3 separate regions of the Homo sapiens genome follow, and all the other regions are linked to region 2. The links are contacts of gene promoters, found by promoter capture Hi-C in blood cells and fetal thymus (Javierre and others, 2016). All regions are on one chromosome and are shown on one strand. Each heading gives the region's core, a stretch centred on a gene start or on the middle of the fragment in contact. The rest is flanking DNA. Distances are from core to core; before and after follow the strand shown. Region 1 overlaps LOC105372270 (a long non-coding RNA gene). Region 2 holds the start of OR7G1 (olfactory receptor family 7 subfamily G member 1). Region 3 overlaps COL5A3 (collagen type V alpha 3 chain).

The links. Contacts are between HindIII fragments. The CHiCAGO score rates a contact against its expected background, and 5 or more counts as called.
Region 1: a fragment that was not itself captured here is called in contact with the fragment with the promoter of OR7G1 in region 2 in 2 of 17 cell types (erythroblasts and fetal thymus); the score reaches 6.0 in erythroblasts.
Region 3: a fragment that was not itself captured here is called in contact with the fragment with the promoter of OR7G1 in region 2 in 1 of 17 cell types (fetal thymus); the score reaches 5.3 in fetal thymus.

What each region holds. Positions count from the first base shown.
Region 1 is chr19:9,711,219-9,713,984 of GRCh38, forward strand. The region is part of intron 1 of LOC105372270 (a long non-coding RNA gene); the gene reads left to right. Among named protein-coding and RNA genes, the nearest start is that of ZNF562, 38 kb to the left of the region's middle. The HindIII fragment of the contact is 3,459 bases long and covers 1-2,766 here.
Region 2 is chr19:9,114,353-9,117,052 of GRCh38, forward strand. OR7G1 (olfactory receptor family 7 subfamily G member 1) reads right to left here and starts at 1,411. Exons shown (of 1, transcript NM_001005192.2): 1 at 476-1,411. The coding sequence starts at 1,411. The coding sequence ends at 476. The HindIII fragment of the contact is 3,860 bases long and covers 512-2,700 here.
Region 3 is chr19:9,981,699-9,984,459 of GRCh38, forward strand. COL5A3 (collagen type V alpha 3 chain) reads right to left here. Exons shown (of 67, transcript NM_015719.4): 32 at 367-420. Among named protein-coding and RNA genes, the nearest start is that of COL5A3, 27 kb to the right of the region's middle. The HindIII fragment of the contact is 1,596 bases long and covers 528-2,123 here.

The DNA of each region.
Region 1 (2,766 bases), core at 91-2,590, 600 kb after region 2:
AAAAAAAAAAATCCCAAACAGTATATGTAAGAAGAGAAAAAGAAAAACAAAAGCAAAAGGCAAAAATCTTGCTGTCCACCATACAACAAAGTACCAAGGGAGCCAGACATATAAAGAACCTAGACCACCACTGTCCAGGTGATATAAAATGTATGAAAGAGTAAAGCCAGGAGACTCAAAGGAAGAAAAAAAAAAGACAGAAAAATTGTTTCAAATGTGAAAAAATAGGTCACTTTAAAAGACAATGTCCCAAGTGAGAAAGAGGAAGAGACTGAGTGTGAGGGAGAGAATGCTGAGACCAGATCGGTCAGGGAGACCCTAACCCAGTAGCGCTAGAAGAATTGAAGACACACACACAGAAATATAGAGGTGTGAAGTGGGAAATCAGGGGTCTCACAGCCTTCAGAGCTGAGAGCCCCAAACAGAGATTTACCCACGTATTTATTAACAGCAAACCAGTCATTAGCATTGTTTCTATAGATGTTAAATTAACTAAAAGTATCCCTTATGGGAAATGAAGGGATGGGCCAAATTAAAGGAATAGGTTGGGCTAGTTAACTGCAGCAGAAGCATGTCCTTAAGGCACAGATCACTCATGATATTGTTTGTGGCTTAAGAATGCCTTTAAGCAGTTTTCCACCCTGGGCGGGTCAGGTATTCCTTGCCCTCATTCCGGTAAACCCCCAACCTTCCAGAGCGGGCATTGGGGCCATTATGAACATGTTACTGTGCTGCAGAGATTTTGTTTATAGCCAGTTTTGGAGCCAGTTTATGGCCAGATTTTGGGAGGCCTGCTCCCAACATGTCCCCCTTCTTTGATTTGCAGATTGATAAAAGCAAAGGAGCTTTGTCATGGTGAGCTACTTCTCATAGGAGTCAGGATCTGCATCTGAAGACTATACAAAGATAAATAACATGGATTAAAAGCACAATCATCATTGAAATTACAGAGCTTCCAAGTGTTTTTATCCATTTTAATGGGTTACTAGCTGCTAATTTGTCTGCAGCTCCTTTAAGCACCCCAGTTCCTGGCATTAAGGTCAGGTGTGCCTGGGATGTTTTAAAATCTGTTCTTTTAATTTTGCAATATCCAAAAACAAGTCTGTAGAGTGTCCTTTTAGATACTTTTTTATTCTTTCCAAAATTGTGATCTTATTAAGAGCTATTAATAGTTTCCACAAATCCTTAATGTTTAGCTCCTACAATGAGCCATATCATTTGAGGTTGAAGTGCCACTATACTGCTATGGTTCCAGATAATAGGAACTCTTGTTGTACTTCTTATCATTTCTACCATCTGACCATTTTGTTCAGACCAGCTGAACATAGTGTGGCTGGGGCATGCAGACTGAGAGGTGCAATTCAAGCTAAACATCCCCTTAGGGGACCAATCAATAAAGATTCCATAGGAATCATTGTGTAGCACCTCTACCTGTTCTGCAATGCAATTTTCCTAAACAAGCACATTCATTTTTTCTAACTGGGTCCAATCCTGTTTACAAATAGGTTTTTGAGGGTGGTATGCCTCAATTATAGGAGCAGATTTATTATGGTAAATACTGAGATCAGAAAGCATGTGTAACTGGGTCATAGAGTGATTGCATCCAGGCATTATTGCCAGCCAAGATTGATCAATATGCCCAATAAGTATAATTGTTCTCTGTGTCAGCTCTTATTGAAGGAATACTCACAGCAGTGGTGATAACCACTATGATAGCTACCATTAAATTATTCATTGTGACTGGTTGTCCCACTTTCCTCAGTTTTTCTTCCACCATCTGTGACAGCTTCTTGATCTGTCCCCAGGTGGGTGGCTGTGTTCAACGGGTGTTACTCGTGACAGTTGGGGTCCTCCTCAGCATCAGTCTTGACATGGCTGCAACTGGGGGGTCCTTGGGATCCTCCCGGAGTCTCTTCCTCGGCATCTGGCTCATGATAAGGTTTCAGGTGTCTTGATGGTATCCAAATTGGCTGTTGATTTTGGCCTGGAGAAACACAAGCATAACCTCTACCCTAAGTTATTATTTTACCTATTTCCCATCTTTTTATTATTGGATCTCTCCACCAAATCAGTTGTTCTGTTTCTGTCTTTGCAGCTGGTTTCTGTAGATGCTGTTCAGCTGCTGATAACATCTGGCCTTTGGGCAGGTTCAAAAAATTTAATGTTAATAATGTTAGATTCAGTTGTATCTGTGTGGTTCCATATTCTCCGTCTCCCCTTTTCTGCTTTTGCAACTGCTGTTTTAGGGAGAGATTCATTCTTTCCACTATGGCTTGTCTTTGAGAATTGTATGGGATACCAGTAATGTGTTTAATACTCCACATAGAGAAAAATGTAGCTAGAGATTGGCTAGTATATCCTGGGGCATTATCTGTTTTAATAGAAGCTGGAATGCCCATCACCACAAAACACTGCAAAAGATGATGTTTCAGACAGGCCAAACACTCTCCTGATTAGCATGTAGCCCATATAAAGTGAGAAAAGGTGTCCACACATACACATATATAAGCTAGTCTCCCAAACGAAGGAACATGTGTGACATCCATTTGCCAAAAAGAGTTAGGTTCCAATCCTCAAGGAATAACTCCTCCTGTAAAAGATGAGGAATGTACCATTTGGCAAGTTGGGCATCACTGGATAATATTTTTAGCTTCTTTCCTGGTAATTCTGTATCTGCGTTTGAGACCAGAGGCATTAACATGGGTTAAATTGTGAAAATGTCTAACATTAGATACTGCATTAGCATCTAGGCAATCAGGCTTTTGA
Region 2 (2,700 bases), core at 161-2,660:
AAGGAATCCTGTCATGTTGATTCCTTTTAGAAGCTTCAGTTCAAAGCAGAGCACAAAGATCACAAAAAAGAAAGTAGGTCAGGCATAGTGGCTCATGCCTGTAATCCCAGCACTTTGGGAGGCCGAGGTGGGTGGATTACCTGAAGTCAGGAGTTCGAGACCACCCTGGCCAACCTGGTGAAACCCCATCTCTACTAAAAATACAAAAAAAATCCAGGTGTGGTGGTGTGTGCCTGTAATCCCAGCTACTCGGGAGGCCGAGGCAGGAGAATTGCATGAACCCGGGAGGCGGAGTTTGCAGTGAGCCGAGATCGTGCCACTGTACTCCAGCCTGGGCGACAGAGCGAGATTCTGCCTCGAAAAAAAAAAAAAAAAGTAAATCTCGATGCAAGAGTCAGGCACTCTGGCTTACCAAGGAATCCTGTTATGATGATTTATTTTAGAAGCTCCAATTCAAAGCAGAGGACAAAGATCGCTAAAAAGGAAACAGCCTACCAATAAGTTTCCTCAAAGCTTTCTTCATCTCCTTATTTCTCAGGCTGTAGATGAAGGGGTTCATCATTTGAGGGACCACAGTGTACATCACTGAAGCCACAGCAGTAATTCGGGAAGACTCAGCAACAGCAGAACTAATGTACACCCCAAAAGCTGTCCCATAGAACAAGGAAAAAACAGAGAGGTGACAGCCACAGGTGGAAAACGCTTTATACTTTCCTCTTGCTGATGGCATTCTCAGAACAGAGGTGACTATTTGAGAATAAGAGAAAATTATTCCAGAGAGAGGAATTGCACCAAATACACTACTTGCAAAATATATGAGGATGTTGTTGATGAGGGTGTCAGAACAGGCGAGCTTGATGACCTGAACGACTTCACAGAAGAACAAAGGGATTTCAACGTTTTTGCAGAAGGACAGCTGCAATACCATCAGACTCTGAACCAGGGCATCCATAGTGCTCATGAACATGGAGAGAAGAATCAGCAAGCCCCAGAAATGGACATTCATGAGGACTGTGTACCTCAGTGGGTGGCAAATGGCCACATAGCGGTCGTAGGCCATGACTGCAAGAAAGCAACTTTCCAAGCCAGCAAAAACCAAGACAAGACAGATCTGGGTGAGGCAGCCTGTGTAAGTGATACTCTGATTCTGAGCTTGGATGTTCACTAGGATCTTTGGGACTGTGGTTGTGGTTAAACAGATGTCAGTAAAGGAGAGATTAAAGAGAAGGAAGTACATGGGGGTGTGGAGGTGGGAGTCAGAGATGACAGCCAGGAGAATGAGCAGGTTCCCCAGGATGGTGACCAGGTACATGGACAGGAACAGGCTGAAAGGGATTAACTTCAGTTCTGGGTCCTCTGTCACTTTCATGAGAAGAAATTCTGAAACAGCTGTTTGGTTTCTGGGTCCCATGTTTTTGATGATCAAAAAATGGGATAATTAGACAATCAAATGTGTTTTCTAGACTGCGGGAGCAACGTCAACAGAGGCAAACACCATCTTGAAAAGGGGTAGATTCTAAGGGAAGAAAATAAATAAGTGTTGCCTTTTGTATTGATATTACTTTACTGCTTTTACAAAACTTGAAGCTAATACAGCACAGCATCAATAATTGTTAATTCTGGAAATGGTTAAGGGGTCATCATTTTTTATTTTTATTTATTTATTTTTTAAATTTATTTATTTATTTTTGAGACAGAGTCTTGCTCTGTGGCCAGGCTGGAGTGCAGTGGCTTGATCCTGGCTCACTGCAACCTCTGCCTCCTGGTTTCAAGCAATTCTCCTGCCTGAGCCTCCCAAGTAGCTGGGATTAAAGATGCTTGCCACAACACCTGGCTAATTTTTGTATTTTTAGTAGAGACGGGGTTTTGCCATGTTGGCCAGGCTGCTCTCAAATGCCTGGCCTCAAGTGATCTGCCCAACTTGGCTTCCCAAAATGCTGGGTTTACAGGCGTGAGCCACCACGCCCAGCCTCATCTTTTTTTTTTTGAGATGGAGTTTCGCTCTTGTTGCCCAGGCTGGAGTGCAGTGGCACAAACTTGGTTCACTGCAACCTCCGCCTCCCAGGTTCAAGCGATTCTCCTTCCTCAGCCTCCTGAGTAGCTGGGATTACAGGCATGTGCCACCACTCTGCTGTTCTGATTATTAAAAATATTTGGTAATGAAAAAACAAAAAATAAATAAAATAAAACAAAGTACATACCAGGAAAACGGCTGGAAGACTCTGTCTGGACCCCCAGAGACTTCACGCCAGCCAACAGAAATAATACAAAGCTGTGTCAAGAACCAGGAAAGGAGAATCGCTTGAACCCAGGGGGCGGAGGTTGCAGTGAGCTGAGATCATGCCATTATACTCCAGCCTGGGCAACGGAGCAAAACTCCATTAAAAAAAAAAAAAACACCACAGGAAAGTGAAGATAAGGTGAAGTTTAGCAAGCTGCTCACCTCCTCTCCCCCACAAGACTGCAAGTAAATTACAGAGAATTTTATAACAGTCATCCTGTTTTCAAAGAAAATGGTAACTACAGAATTCAGGATAGTGTATTTGTTGCTGGAAGAAAACAAGGTGATTTGAGTAGAAAATCCTACAGGTAGGTTCTATGGTGATGACATTAACTTATTTTTAATGCCAGATAGGTATATGCGGTTTTATCATGTTACTATTCTCTCAGAATTACAGATAGATTTTTTTTTTTTTCCTG
Region 3 (2,761 bases), core at 76-2,575, 870 kb after region 2:
ACATGTCCTTTCACGCATATGTACAAGCTTCTTGCACACATTTATGCCCACCATCATGCAAAGTGCACGCAGATTCATGCCCTTGTTCACCCAGGCACAGGCCTGCAGGCTGCGGCATTCAAACCCTGTCTCATCGATATTGAAAGATACATGAAACACATATACATGTGCTTACAGTCATATTCATGATAATACCATGTGTAATCACCTACATGTGTCATGCATTGCATATAATAGCATGTGTGCACACAAATGTTCCAGGCATAGACACAAACACCCAGGGTCCACCCATCATCAGACACAACCACACATGCTGTTCCCCTCAGACAAGTTCTCCCCTCTCCCTTACCCCCGGTCATGACTCACCGACTTCCCTTTCTCTCCTATGGGTCCCAGGGGACCGGGAAATCCAATAGATCCCTGAGTGGAGAGAATTAGAAAGAAGACATGAGGGTGAGGAGTGAGTGGTGGGTGGAATTGGCCCCTCATACCATCCTTTGAGGCATTTCCAGGTCACTGATTCCAGAAGCTTCCTTGGTCTCTACAGCCCCAGCCTCCTACAAGGCAGCCCTCTTCTCTCCTCTCCCCTCCTCTCCTCCCTTCTCATTTCACTGCAGCCCTTTGCACTGGCTGCTGTCTTTGGCTGAAATGCTTGTCTCCTAGGCCTCCACAAAGTCAGCCACTCCTGACCATTTAGATCTCATTCAGATGTCACCTCCTTAGAATGCCTTTCTACCACCATCCTGGCTTCCACATTGCCCAAGTCACCCTCTGTCTGTCACATTATGCTATTTTGTTTTCCCAAGAACACTTGCGTTGAAATGACCCTTATTGACTTATTTATTCAATGCCTGTTTTCCCCCACTGTGACATAGCTCATTGGTCTTATTCCCCACTGCCTGGCACACGGTGAGTGCTTTTTAATATTTGTTAACTGACTCCAGTCCATGCTGGAGGAACCCTTCCTCCACCTGGGGGAAGACATCACAGGCTCTGATATCCTCTCCCACACCTCACTGTGCAGACTGAGTTCAGATCAGAAAAGACAGTTGCCCAAGTTACACAGTCTGTGGTGGCATCCCGCCTCAAAGCCCATTTCAGGCTCCCTCTACTCTCCCTTCCCATCTGGGGGTTCCATGGTCTCTATACTCTTTTTTTGTTTGTTTTATTTTTAAGAGACAGAGTCTCACTTTGTCACCCAGGCTGGAGTGCAGTGGTGCAATCATAGCTCACTGCAGCTTCAACCTTTTGGGCTCAAGTGATCCTCCTACCTCAACCTCCTGAATAGCTGGGACTACAGGTTCACGCCACCATGTCCAGCTAATTTTTGAAATAAATTTTTAGTAGATATGGGGTCTCACTATGTTGCCCAGGCTGGTCTTGAACTCCCGGCCTCTAGTGATTCTCCTACCTCAGCCTCTGAAAGTGCTGAGATTACAGGTGTGAGCCACCAACCTGGCCCCAACACTCTTCAAGGATCCTGAACACATGCACACAAGGACTTTCTAAAATCTTAGTCTATGTCAGGTACAGTGGCTTATGCTTGTAATCCCAGCACTTTGGGAGGCCAAGGTAGGAGAATCACTTGAAGCTGGGAGTTTGAGATCAGCCTGGGCAGCATAGCGAGACCCTGTCTCTGTAAAAAATTTAAAAATTCATCAGGTGGTGCGCACCTGTTGTTCCCAGCTACTCAGGAGGCTGAGGCAGGAGGACTGCTTGAGTCCAAGAATTGGGGGCTGTAATAAGCTATGATCGCACTATTGCACTCCAGCCTGAATGACAGAGTGACACCCTGTCTGAAAGGAAAGCAAGCAAGCAAGCAAAAAGAAAGAAGAAAGAAAGAAAGAAAGAAAGAAAGAAAGAAAGAAAGAAAGAAAGAAAGAAAGAAAGAAAGAAAGAAAGAGAAAGAGAGAGAGAGAGAAAGAAAGAAAGAAGAGAGAGAGAGAAAGAAAGACAGACAGAAAGAAAGAAAGAAAAAAGAAGAAAGAAAGAAGGAAAGAAAGAGAAAAAAGAAGGAAAAGAAAAGAAAAAAGAGGGGGACGCAGTGAGGGAGGGAGGGAAGAAAGGAAGGAAGGAAGAAAGGAGGAAGGAAGGAAGGAGAATAAAGTTGTCCATCAAAACTAAGCTTCAAAGTTTTTTTCTCAATCGTTAAAAAGAAAAAAAAATCTAAGTTAAAGGAAAAGGAGTCAATGTAAAGGGAAATCACTGAAAAAATAAAAAAAAAAAACCACTGTCAAATCCAACGTAGGCAAGATAACTATCAGCTCAACAGCACAAAAATGTGAAACTCTAGGAGGATTCTGCACTCAATTATCTTCCCAAATGTCTATTTTTTTTTTCTTTTGAGACAGAGTCTCACTCTGTTGCCCAGGGTGGAGTAAGTGGCACGATCTCAGCTCACTGCATCCTCTGCTTCCCGGGCTCAAGCAATTCTCCTGCCTCAGCCTCCATGTACCTGGGATTACAGGCACCCGCCACTGCACCCAGCTAATTCTTGTATTTTTAGTAGAGATGGGGTTCTGCCATGTTGGCCAGGCTGGTGGTGAACTCTCGACCTCAGGTGATCCACTCGCCTCGGCCTCCCAAAGTGCTGGGATTACAGCCATGAGCCACTGCGCCCAGCCCCAAATGTCTTTAGGTTCCTGCTCTACTCTAGAGAAACAGAACTCATCAGTGATATAATATGGGAATAGTTTAGGCAGAAAAATGAATCTCATCAGTGTCCTCACCCATCAAAACATTGGCAAACAAATGTTATGTT